Linked DNA regions of Homo sapiens: region 2 is linked to region 1. Evidence: promoter capture Hi-C in human tissues and cell types (Jung and others, 2019). All regions are on one chromosome and are shown on one strand. Each heading gives the region's core, a stretch centred on a gene start or on the middle of the fragment in contact. The rest is flanking DNA. Distances are from core to core; before and after follow the strand shown. Region 1 holds the start of TBC1D13 (TBC1 domain family member 13). Region 2 overlaps KYAT1-SPOUT1 (KYAT1-SPOUT1 readthrough).

What was found. Contacts are between HindIII fragments. The study calls those that stand out against the background at their distance.
Region 2: a fragment that was not itself captured here is called in contact with the fragment with the promoter of TBC1D13 in region 1 in 1 of the 25 tissues and cell types used here (ovary).

The regions. Positions count from the first base shown.
Region 1 is chr9:128,785,022-128,790,852 of GRCh38, forward strand. It overlaps TBC1D13 (TBC1 domain family member 13), which reads left to right and starts at 2,232. Exons shown (of 12, transcript NM_018201.5): 1 at 2,232-2,355; 2 at 3,313-3,386; 3 at 5,714-5,754. The coding sequence starts at 2,333. RefSeq lists a silencer at 1,880-2,369. The HindIII fragment of the contact is 9,895 bases long and covers 1-5,232 here.
Region 2 is chr9:128,845,151-128,851,308 of GRCh38, forward strand. KYAT1-SPOUT1 (KYAT1-SPOUT1 readthrough) reads right to left here. Exons shown (of 25, transcript NR_182311.1): 2 at 203-261. It overlaps KYAT1 (kynurenine aminotransferase 1), which reads right to left. Exons shown (of 13, transcript NM_004059.5): 2 at 203-261. The coding sequence starts at 255. Among named protein-coding and RNA genes, the nearest start is that of SPOUT1, 18 kb to the left of the region's middle. RefSeq lists a silencer at 1-217. The HindIII fragment of the contact is 3,862 bases long and covers 916-4,777 here.

The sequences.
Region 1 (5,831 bases), core at 982-3,481:
TACTAAAAATACAAAATTTTTTTTAAATCAAAAAATATAAAAATTAGCCAGGCAGGGTGGCATGAACCTTTAATCCTAGCTACTCGGGAGGCTGAGGCAGAAGAATCGCTTGAACCCGGGAGGCAGAGGTTGCCGTGAGCTGGAGATCACCCCATTGCACTCCAGCCTCGGCAACAAGAGTGAGATTCCGTCTCAAGAAAAAAAAAAAAGAAGGCCAGGCATGGTAGCTCATGCCTGTAATCCCAGCACTTTGGGAGGCCTGAGGTGGGCAGACACTTGAGGTCAGGAGTTTGAGACCAGCCTGGCCAACATGATGAAACCCTATCTCTACCTCAAAATACAAAAATCAGCTGGGCATGGTGGCATGCGCCTGTAGTCCCAGCTACTCAGTAGGCAGAGGTTGCAGTGAACTGAGATTGCGCCACTGCACTCCAGCCTGGGGTGACAGAGTGAGACCATGTCTCAAAAAAAAGAAAGAAGAGTATATATGCATAGCAAACGTGTGAAGAGATGCTCAACATCATATGTCTTTAGGGAAATGCATGTTAAAGCAGGAGATACCACTTCACATCTACTAGAATGTCTAAGATTAAAAAGACTGACCACATCAAGTATTGGTGAGGACGTGGTACAACAGCAACTCTCATATACTGCTGGGGTAGGTGTTAAATAATACAACCATTTTGGAAAATATTTAAGCACTTTCTTTTCTTTTTCTTTTTCTTTTTTTTTTTTTGAGATAGAGTGTCGCTCTTTCGCCCAGGCTGGAGTGCAGTCGTGCAATCTCCACTCACTGCAAGCTCTGCCTCCCAGGTTCATGCCATTCTCCTGCCTCAGCCTCCCGAGTAGCTGGGACTACAGGCACCCACCACCACGCCCGGCTAATTTTTTTCTTTGTATTTTTTAGTAGAGATGGGGTTTCACCGTGTTAGACAGGATGGTCTCGATCTCCTGACCTCATGATCCGCCCTCCTTGGCCTCCCAAAGTGCTGGGATTACAGGCGTGAGCCACCGCGCCTGGCTAGCTGTTTCTTTCTTTTTTTTTTTTTCTCAAGAAAAAGGTGTTAAATAATACAACCATTTCGGAAAATCTTTAAGCAGTTTCTTTTCTTTTCTTTTCTTTTTTTTTTTTTTTTGACAGGGTCTTGCGTTTTTGCCCAGGTTGGAGTGCGGTGGCGCTATTGGAGTGCGGTGGCACTATCTCGGCTCACTGCAAGCTCCGCCTCCCGGGTTCAAGCAATTCTCCTGCCTCAGCTTCCTGAGTAGCTGGGATTACAGTTGTGCGTCACCACACCCGGCTAATTTTTGTATTTTTAGTAGAGACGAGGTTTCACCATGTTGGTTAGGCTGTTCTCAAATTCCTGACCTGGTGATCTGCCCGCTTCAGCCTCCCAAAGTGCTGGGATTACAGGCGTGAGCCACCACGCCCGGCCTACTCAACTAATTTTTACATCTTTTGTAAAGAAGGTAATCTCGAGGAGCTGGGATTACAGGCGCCTGCCACCACGCCCGGCTAATTTTTGCATTTTTGGTAGAGACGGGGTTTCACCGTGTTGGCCAGAGTGGTCTCCAACTCCTGACCTCAAGTGGTCTGCCTGCCTCGTCCTCCCAAAGCACTGGAATTTACAGGGATGAGCCACCGCGCCCGGTCCAGCCTATTTTTCTTAAGATATCATTTGTGTTTTTTTCTTTCTTCCTAACTTACATTTTATAGGGTTTGCTGGTATAGTTTTTATAAAAAAAAAAAAAGTTGGGCCGCGCACGGCGGTTCATGCGAGTCCCTGCTATACAGGCCTTGAGGATTCTGCAGAGACCAAGATAAGCTGGGGGGCCTGAACAGTTTAGCAGGGGAGGCCGAGACTCCTGTAACAATCATGCAGTAGTTAATTACAGGGGGGTGAGTGCAGGGAAGACGACAGGGTGACAGGTATATTGCGTAAGTAGACACTGAGGCCCAGGGAAGCGCAAGGAATAGTCCAGAGACACACAGTCTGCGCTGTCACCGGCGGGTTCTCAAATTTGGCCCGCAGGGTCGGCGGCGCTGGGGCTCCCGGCCCGCGATTGCCACGCCCACCAGACCCGAGGTTGCCCCGCTCAACCCGGCCGGCCGTAGCCGCCAGTACCGTGTGGAAGCGTGAGAGTCGAGGGGTGGCACGTGACTGGCGGGGCGGGGCGGGGCTGAGGCGGTGGAACGCGCAGGCTAGTGGCTGTGTTTCCCGCCGGAGGCTTTTGCGCAGAGCCCCGCGTCCCTGGGGGGCGGCGGCGGCGGCGGCAGCGCAGGCGGCAGAGGCGCAGGCGGCGGAGGCGGCTGGGGGGTCCGGAAGTCAACACCATGTCAAGTCTGCACAAGAGCCGGTAAGGGGCCATGGGGCCTGACCCGGCTGGGCCACTCCTGGCCAGGCTGCCCCTTCTGCCCCTCAGAAGGGGGAAGCGCGGGTGTGGCCAGGAATCGGCAGACCCCCTCGGCAGAGGGTCTCGAGCGTCCACCTTCTAACCTCATTGCCTGTGGGCTGCAGGAACGACGGAGGGGCGGCCCTTCTCCTGCCCCTGATGTCACTGCTTCTGCCTCCCTCATCCTGGACCCCTGGTGTCCCCCTTCCCCTGAGTCTTCCTCATCCAGACCCCCATGCCCCGCCCCCGTGCCTTTCCCCCTTTTGATCCCCCTGCTCCCGTACTCTCTCCAAGTGCACCCTGTCCCCCGTGCCTTTTTCTTACTAGGATTGCTAGAGAACTTGCATTCTCCAGTCTGGCCCCTCCCCCAGGCCAGATCCTGCAGCATTGGCTGAATTTTGCTCACTCTTCAGTTTTCCTTCAGGACGTGTTTTTTAAACCCTTTGTCCTTGCCTTCTGGCAGGCCCAGAGGTCTTGTAATGGTTATATTTGTGAGCATGGTCCATTGTCTGCATATCAAATTACTCCTGGTTCCTGAGGTCCAAGGAGTTCAGTTGGTGGCTGTGCGTGGACCCGGCCTGGCCGGCAGGAAGTGCCCAGTAAATGTCAGCTCACTAAGTATTAGAATGTTGGAATATGTCTAATTTTATGGTCCTCATTTGGGAACTTCTAGACAAGAATATCTCTCAAGTTTCTTCCCTGGCATTCTGTGTTTCTGGTTGTAGAGGAAGAAGTGAAATATAGTTTTGTTGTTCTCCAAAGCTGTCTTTGGTGAGGACCTTGACTAAGCTGTGTGATTTTTATGTCCTAAAGGGGAGAGAGGCACAGGTTGGAAACTGGCAGTGTGAGGGAGCTGAGGGCTGTGGGTCTCACTGAGCCGATATCAGCATGCTTCATTTGCCGCCCTATCTCCCCTTCCAGAATTGCAGATTTCCAGGATGTCCTGAAGGAGCCCTCAATTGCATTGGAAAAGCTGCGGGAACTCAGCTTTAGTGGTAAGAAGCCATTCTGTATTTTCACGGTTTCCCTACAGCAGCCCTGTGGCTAGAATACAGGGGGAGGCCACACCTGGTCAGCTCTGGGGCCCAGCTGCTGGGGGCTGGGGCCTTGGAAGGAAATTACACACAGACTCTTGGGGCCTTTTCCAGATTCTGTAGAGCTGAACAGGCAGTGACTGCCTTGAGCTTGGAGGGGTTTCCCAGAGGGGCAGTGGCCACACTTAGCATGCCCTAAGCTTTCCTAAGCTTTCCGCAGGAGGTGCCAGATTCCTGAGAGTAACAGGACAGGACTGAAGCCTGGAGAATGAGAGTTGGGACCTTTTGAGCCCAGGACAGTCTTTCCTCATTCCTTAGCTAGCTTCCTGTGTTGGTGAGTTTGGTTAACTGCAGGGTTGTTCCTTGTTCTCTCCCTGGCTTGGGGTCTAAGCTGCCTGAACTAAACCTTGGCTAGTGGTAAAATGGGTAGCCTTGGGACACTGACTTTAAGGAGCTGATCCTGCTGTGTTAGACTTTGCCCCAATGAGCACAAAGATAACTCTCTTTTTGCCTGTTTTAAAAAATATCCCAACGTGTTCTGCATAGCTTCTTGTCACTTTTTTGCCCTTGTAACTTTGCCAGCAAGAACTTCTGGCCGGGTGCCGTGGCTCATGCCTGTAATCCCAACATTTTGGGAGGCCAAGGCAGGTGGATCACCTGAGGTCAGGAGTTCGAGAACAGCCTGGCCAACATGGTGAAACCTAGTCTCTACTAAAAATATAAAAAAGTAGCTGGGCTTGGTGGCACTTGCCTGTAATCCCAGCTACTCGGGAGGCTGAGGCAGGAAAATCACTTGAACCTGGGAATTGCAGTGAGCCGAGATTGCGCCATTGCACTCCAGCCTGGGCGACAAGAGTGAAGCTCCATCTCAAAAAAAAAAAAAAAAAAAAGAACTTCTTATATTGTCCCTGTCATCCTCATATAGATTCTGAAGTGGAGGTATTCACTCATGTTCATGGTACCAGGGATACTACAGCAGCAACTGCGGTAGTGAGCTTCCTGATCTTATTGCAGGATAACTTTGTCTTTCTGTTTAGGAGTGAAATATAGGCCCCAAAGGAGAGGCAGTCAGTGTTAGTAGTTAAGAGTTTTACAGATAAGTTTCCTTCTTACGACAATTACGTTAATCTTCCCTACTTACTGGGGTAATAATGAAGATTAAATGAAATAATATCTGTAAAGCACAAAATACTTAGCATTCGTAGCTTAGTTTATATTCCACAAATATGTATGGAATATCTTCTATGTGCAGTGCTCTGTGCTATGCACTGGGAATAATAGATGTGGTTTTTGTCCTTCTGGGGCTTACCCAGTAGTAGGGGTTACAGACGTTAAGAAAATACACCATATATATATATATATATATAATAATTCCACTTATGACAGATGCTATGAAATAGTCACAGAGCCATTATTGCTTATAACAGGGGGAACTGACCTGAATTAGGATGACATGGTGGTGGTAAAGGCTGCTCCTGAGGAAGGAATATCAAGGATGAGAAGGTGTTATCCTCAAAAGAACATTTCAGGCCGGGCATGGTGGCTCACACCTGTAATCTCAGCACTTTGGGAGGCTGAGGCAGGTGGATCACCTGAGGTCAGGAGTTCGAGACCAGCCTGGCCAATATGGTGAAACCCTGTCTCTACTAAAAATACAAAAATTAGCCAGGAGTGGTGGCACACATCTGTAATCCCAGCTACTTGCAAGGCTGAGGCAGAAGAATTAGTTAAACCGGGGAGGCGGAGGTTGCAGTGAGCAGAAATCACGCCATTGCACTCCAGCCTGGGCAACAGAGCAAGACTTTGTCTCCAAAAAAAAAAAAAAAAAAATTAGCATCCAGTCTAGGCTGGGTATGGTGGCTCACGCCTGTAATCCTAACAGTTTGGGAGGCCGAAGTGGGGGGATCACCTGAGGTCAGGAGTTCAAGCCCAGCCTAGCCAACATGGTGAAACCTTGTCTCTACTAAAAATACAAAAATTAGCTGAGCACAGTGGCGCGTGCCTGTAATCCCAGCTACCTGGGAGGCTGAGGCTGGAGAATCGCTGGAACTCGGGAGGCGGAGGCTGCAGTGAGCCGAGATTGCGCCACTTCACTCCAGCCTAGGTGTTAGAGGGAGACTCCATCTCAAAAAAAAGAAACCATCCAATCTAGTCATCTTTCTTGGGGAAATGATTCTTGAAGAAGTACTTCTTGCCCACTCTACTCCCCGCCAGTTGGCTCCACGGTGAAGGGCTGGGGGTTCTGGGACTCTGGCCTGGGGCATGACCTTTGCCTGCTGTGTCCACAGGCATCCCCTGTGAGGGCGGACTGCGGTGCCTCTGCTGGAAGGTGGGTGTGCCTGGGGTGGGGCTTCTGCTCTGCTGAGAGTCCCTGGGTTTTCCTGCATGGGCTGCCCCTACCCCTGG
Region 2 (6,158 bases), core at 1,597-4,096, 61 kb after region 1:
CTAGTGGCACAGTCATGCAGAAGAAAGCTGAGATTTGAACCAAGCCTACTCCCTCGGGCCCTGTCTCTCCTGAGCTATGGCTGGAATCTGGCAGTCTGTGTACCGCCACCATCTGGAGTACTACTGAGTTGCTGTAAACCCAGGGATGGCCAACCCATGCCCGAGGGGACACCCACACACCTCCCCAGCCCAGCTGGCTCACCAGGGGTTGTAGTCGATCCCGTCTAGCCTTCGGGCCTGCAGCTGTTTGGCCATGGCGAGCTGGAGACGAACAAGTGGAAGGTCAGAGATGGAATCTGTCTGGGTGCAGCAGTCCGAGCTTGCACACAGGAGGGACAGCTGCTTTCAGGCCACAGCGCCATCCTGTCTGCTCCCAGGAGGGGGAAGAGATAGAGTTTGCAGAAGGGCAGGTTTCTGCCTGCCTCCCAAGCCTGTTATGCTCCAACACCCTCACCTGGTTCCTCTTGACTCCAGCAGCCTCCACCTCCCCAACCTGCAGGGGCTGCCTGGCGCCTGCCCAGTGGAGACTTCCAGCCCTGGCTCCATGCGTCCTGAGACAGAGCCCTGACTTGGCCAGGTTAAAGTCTGACTCAGGAAGGGCTGAGGGTTAAAGAAGAGGAGCAGGAGGTGGGTGGAGCGGAGAGGGAGGATAATGGCAACAGTGACAGCAGCAGCCTCCACTTACAGAGGTCTTGCTAAGCACTTCCATTTCATTCCCTGAATGACCTGGTCAGGCCTATCTTATCAATGAGAAAACAGAAGGTGGAAAACAGAGGCTGGAGGGTGCAGGAGGGGGAGTGATGTGTTTAAGGCCACACAACACACACACTCAGACTTAGGCCTGTTGGACCCAAGGCCATGTCCTAACTCTGAGGGAGGCACTAATCCGCTCCTCGGAGGGTCCCGGGGTCCTGGCTCCTGGCTCGCCCCTCCCCTCCCGGTGTTCCTCCCAGGCCAGCTCCCTCCTCAGCCACTGGTGTGCAGAAACTGGCCAGGGGCTGGGCACAGTGGCTCACGCCTGTAATCCCAGCACTTTGGGAGGCTGAGGCGGGCAGATCACCTGAGGTCAGGAGTTCGAGACCAGCCTGGCCAACATGGTGAAACCCCCATCTCTACTAAAAATACAAAAATTAGCTGGGCGTGGTAGCACGCACCTGTTATCCCAGCTACTTGGGAGGCTGAGGCACAAGAATCACTTGAACCTGGGAGGCAGACATTGCAGTGAGGCAAGAGCACACCACTGCACTCCAGCCTGAGCATTAGAGTGAAACTCAGTCTGGGAAAAACAAACAAAGAAACTTATCTGGGCGTCATGACACATGCCTGTAATCCCAGCTACTCAGGAGGCTGAGGCCTGAGAATCACTTGAACCTGGGAGATGGAGATTGCAGTGGGCCAAGATCGTGCCAGCCACTGCACTCCTGCCCGACCCAACGAGCAAGACTCTACCAAAAAAAAAAAAAAAAAAAAAAAAAGAAAGAAAGAAATTGGCCAGACCTGAGAGCCACCAAACTCAGGTCCTAACCCACCTTGGCTGGGTGACCCTGGATAGGTAATTTGGCTCCTCCTGTCCTCAGAATCCCTTCAGCAGCAGGGACCTCACATGGGCTTTGTGGTCCCTGAGGAACCTTCCGTTCCTGTGGGTTTGCCAGTCCCAGATGGCTGGTGGGCCGTGGAGCTGGGGATCCAACATTCTTCTCAGCCACCTGCTGTGGTCAATAGTGAACCCTGGCTCAGGATTTTGCTCAGTTCCACCTCGCTCAGTTCCCACTGCACTCTCACTAGAGGTGCCACAATAGTCTCCATCTAACAGATGAGGACACTGAGGCTTGAAGAGGCTCAGGTACCTGCCCAGGGTCAGAAGAGAAGCTGGCAAGGACCTGGTCAGGGTGGCAGCCACAGTAATCTCAACACCAGGCCCCCCTGTCCTGGAGGGGCCTTGGGACCATTTGAGTAAGTGCCAGGTCTTCCATGGCCCAGGAACCCCACCGCGCCTGGCTCAGTTGACATTTATTGAGTCCCTACCAGGTACTGGGTTCTGGGATGGGCACAGGGGATCATGGGAAGCAGCACCCTACAGCGCCCAAGCTGACTATTCAGATGCAGAGCTACAAGTTCTAGACTAGAGAAGCAGGGGCAAGGGAGAAGCCCACATACAGGCTGCAGTTAAAGAGGGCTCCCTGAAAGAGAAGGCTCATGCACAGCTTTGAAGCCAGGAACGAGCCAGACCCCAGAAGCCCCAGGCCATGCAGGTGGCAGAGTATTGGGGTTAGGGCACTTACAGTCTGGTGCAAGAACCAAGTGAGTGGGGCTCCAGCCTTCCTTCCCTGAAGGGGCCCCACCAGGTGCACAGAGATGGCTGCTGCAGTCCTGAACATGCCTCCCAGAGCCTTGGGGCACTGCAGACTTTTCCAGAGGCAGGGGAGAAGGGAGGAAACAGCCCTGGCCAGAAAATGCCTCCGAGCTCAGGACTTGGGTCCCCCACACACAGCTCTAACAATAACAACAACAACAACAACAACAACAACAACAATATGGTCATTGCGTGCCAGGAATAGCACCAAGTGCTCTGTTGCATGATTATCCGACTCCGTCCTTATAAGAACCCTGTTACTCATATACAATACACCCCCCAGCAACCCAAGTGACCCTTTCAAAACACAAATCACCTCTAATTAAAAAATGATCCAGGAGAGGATCACTGATAGCCCTGAATATCACCAAGAGCATAAACCAAACATGTTCTGACTCTGGAAACACATACACCACCTGCAAATTATTCCTGCTGTAAAAGTGGCCCTAAATTAGATCACACTGTTGAATGACTAAAATACAGGGACAGAAGAACATGTTAAATAACACCATGGAGATGCAATCAACAAATTCAAGCAGGGCAATGTGTCTCACACCTGTAAACTCAGCACTTTGGGAGGCCAAAGCAGGAGGATCTCTTGAGCCCAGGAGTTTGAGACCAGCCTGGGCAACATACTGAAACACCGTCTCTACAAAAATACAAAAATTGACCAGGTGTGATGGTGCACACCTGTAGTCCCAGCTACTGGGGAAGCTAAAGTGGGAGAATCACTTGATCCTGGAGAGGTCAAGGCTACAGTGAGCCATGATCCCACCACTGCACTCCAGCCTGGGCGACAGAGGGAGATATGTCTCAAAAAAAAAAAAAAAAAAAAAAGTAAATGCCTGAAAAAGAAGAAAAAAATTGAAGAAATCACACTGCACAATTTGGAAGCTTAATGCAAACATACAGGAACCAAGAAAGTGTGATACTGCTTAAAGATAGATATATAAGTCAATTGAATAGAACTGACAGTCCAGAAATAAATGGTCACAATTGCTATTTGATAAGATGCTAAGAAACTCAAATGGGGGCCAGGCATGGTGGCTCACGCCTGTAATCCCAGCACTGTGGGAGGCTGAGGCGAGTGGATCACTTCAGGTCAGAAGTTTGTGACCAGCCTGGCCAACATGCTAAAACCTCGTCTCTACTAAAAATACAAAAATTAGCCAGGCATGGTGGTGTGCACCTGTAATCCCAGTTACTGGGAGGCTGAGGCAGAAGAATCACTTGAACTTAGGAGGTGGAGGATGCAGTGAGCCGAGATCACGCCACTCACTGCACTCCAGCCTGGGTGACAGAGTGAGACTCTGTCTCAAAAAAAAAAAAAAAAAAAAAATTGGGAGGCTGGGTGTGGCTCATGCCTGTAACACGAACACTTTGGGAGGCCAAGGCGGGAGGATCATTTGAGGTCAGGAGTTTGAGACCAGCGAAACCCCATCTCTAATAAAAATACAAAAAATTAGCTGGGTGTGGTGGCACATGACTGTAGTCCCAGCTACTTGTGAGGCTGAGGCAGGAGAACTGCTTGAACCTGGGAGGCAAAGGTTGCAGTGAGCCAAGATCGTGCCACTGTACTCCAGCCTAAGCGACAAAATGAGACTGTCTCAAAAAAAAAGGTGGGGAGGCCAGGCATGGTGGCTCATGCCTGTAATTCCAGCAATTTGGGAGGCTGAGGTGGACGGATCACCTGAGGTCAGGAGTTCGATACCAGCCTGGTCAACATGGTGAAACCCCATTTCTACGAAAAATACAAAATTAGCAGGGCATGGTGGCACATGCCTGTAGTCCCAGCTACCCAGGAGGCTGAGGCAGGAGAATCGCTGGAACCCAGGAGGCGGAGGTTGCAGTGAGCCGAGATCACACCACTGCACTCCAGGCTGGGTGACAGAGCAAGTCACCGGCTCAAAAAAAAAGCGGGGGTGGGGGGTGGGAAATAATAATCTTTTCAACAAATGAACAAATGGTGCTGAGACAACTAAATATCCACATGTAAATGAATGAATTTGGGGCCAGGCGTGGCAGCTTATGCCTGTAATCCCAGCACTTTGGGAGGCCGAGGCAGGCTGATCATGAGGTTAGGAGCTCAAGACCAGCCTGGCCAAGATGGTGAAACCAAGATGGTGTACTAAAAATACAAAAAATTAGCCAGGCATGGTGGTTGGCACCTGTAATCCCAGCTACTCAGGAGGCTGAGGCAGAGAATTGCTTCAACTTGGGAGATGGAGGTTGCAGTGAGCCGAGATCACGCCACTGCACTCCAGCCTGGGAGACAAAGTGAGACTCTGTCTCAAAAAAAAAAAAAAAGAAAAGAAAAGAAAAGAATGAATTTGGACCTCTATCTCACAGAATACACACATATAAATTTTTTATTTTCTTCTTTTTTTTTTTTTTTTTTTGAGATAGGGTCTCACGTTGTTACCCAGGCTGGAGTGCAGTGGTGCCTTCTCAGCTCACTGCAGCCTCGACTTCCTGGGTTCAAGTGATTCTCCTGCCTCAGCCTCCTGAGTAGCTGGGATTATACGTGTGTGCCACCATGCCTGGCTAATTTTTGTATTTTAATTAGAGATGGGGTTTTGCTATACTGGCCAGGCTGGTCTTGAACTCCTGGCCTGAAGTTGTTCTGCTCATGACGGCCTCCCACAGTGTTAGGATTGCAGGCATGAGCCACCATGCCTGGCCAGCCCAGGCTGTTCTTGAACCCCTGACTTCAAGCGATCCTCCTTCTTCAGTGTAGGGAAAAGAAAGAGAGATCAGACTGTTACTGTGTCTATGTAGAAATGGAAGACATAAGAAATTCCATTTTGACCTGTACCTTGAACAATTGCTTTGCTGAGATGTTGTTAATTTGTAACTTTGCCCCAGCCACTTTGCCCTAACTTTGAGCTCACAAAAACATGTGTTGTAGGGAACCAGGGTTTAAGGGATCTAGGGCTGTGCAGGATATGCCTTGTTAACAAAATGTTTACAAGCAGTATGCTTGGTAAAAGTCATCGCCATTCTCTAGTCTCAATAAACCAGGGGCACAATGCACTGCAGAAAGCCACAGGGACCTCTGCCTTGGAAAGCCGCGTATTGTCCGAGGTTTCTCCCCATGTGATAGTCTGAAATATGGCCTCGTGGGATGAGAAAGACCTGACCGTCCCCCAGCCCAACACCTGTAAAGGGTCTGTGCTGAGGTGGATTAGTAAAAGAGGAAAGCCTCATGAAGTTGAGATAGAGGAAGGCCACTGTCTCCTGCCTGCCCCTGGGAACTGAATGTCTCAGTATAAAACCTGATTATACATTTGTTCAATTCTGAGATAGGAGAAAAACCACCCTATGGCGGGAGGCGAGACACATTGGCAGCAATGCTGCCTGCTATTCTTTACTCCACTGAGATGTTTGGGTGGAGAGAAACATAAATCCGGCCTACATGCACATGCAGGCATAGTACCTCCCCTTGAACTTAATTATGACAGATTCTTTTGCTCATGTTTTTTGCTGAACTTCTCCTTATTATCACCCTGCTCTCCTACTGCATTCCTCTTGCTGAGATAATAAAAATAATAATCAATAAAAAGTGAGGAAACTCAGAGACCGGTACTGGTGCAGGTCCTTGATATGCTGCATGCCGGTCTCCTGGGCCCACTGTTGTTTCTCTACACTTTGTCTCTGTGTCTTATTTCTTTTCTCAGTCTCTCATCCCACCTGACGAGATATCCCACAGGTATGGAGGGGCAGGCCACCCCTTCATCTGACGCCCAATATGGGGCCTTTCTCCAGGGTGAAGTTATGCTGAGAACGTGAGTATTGAGGACAGCTG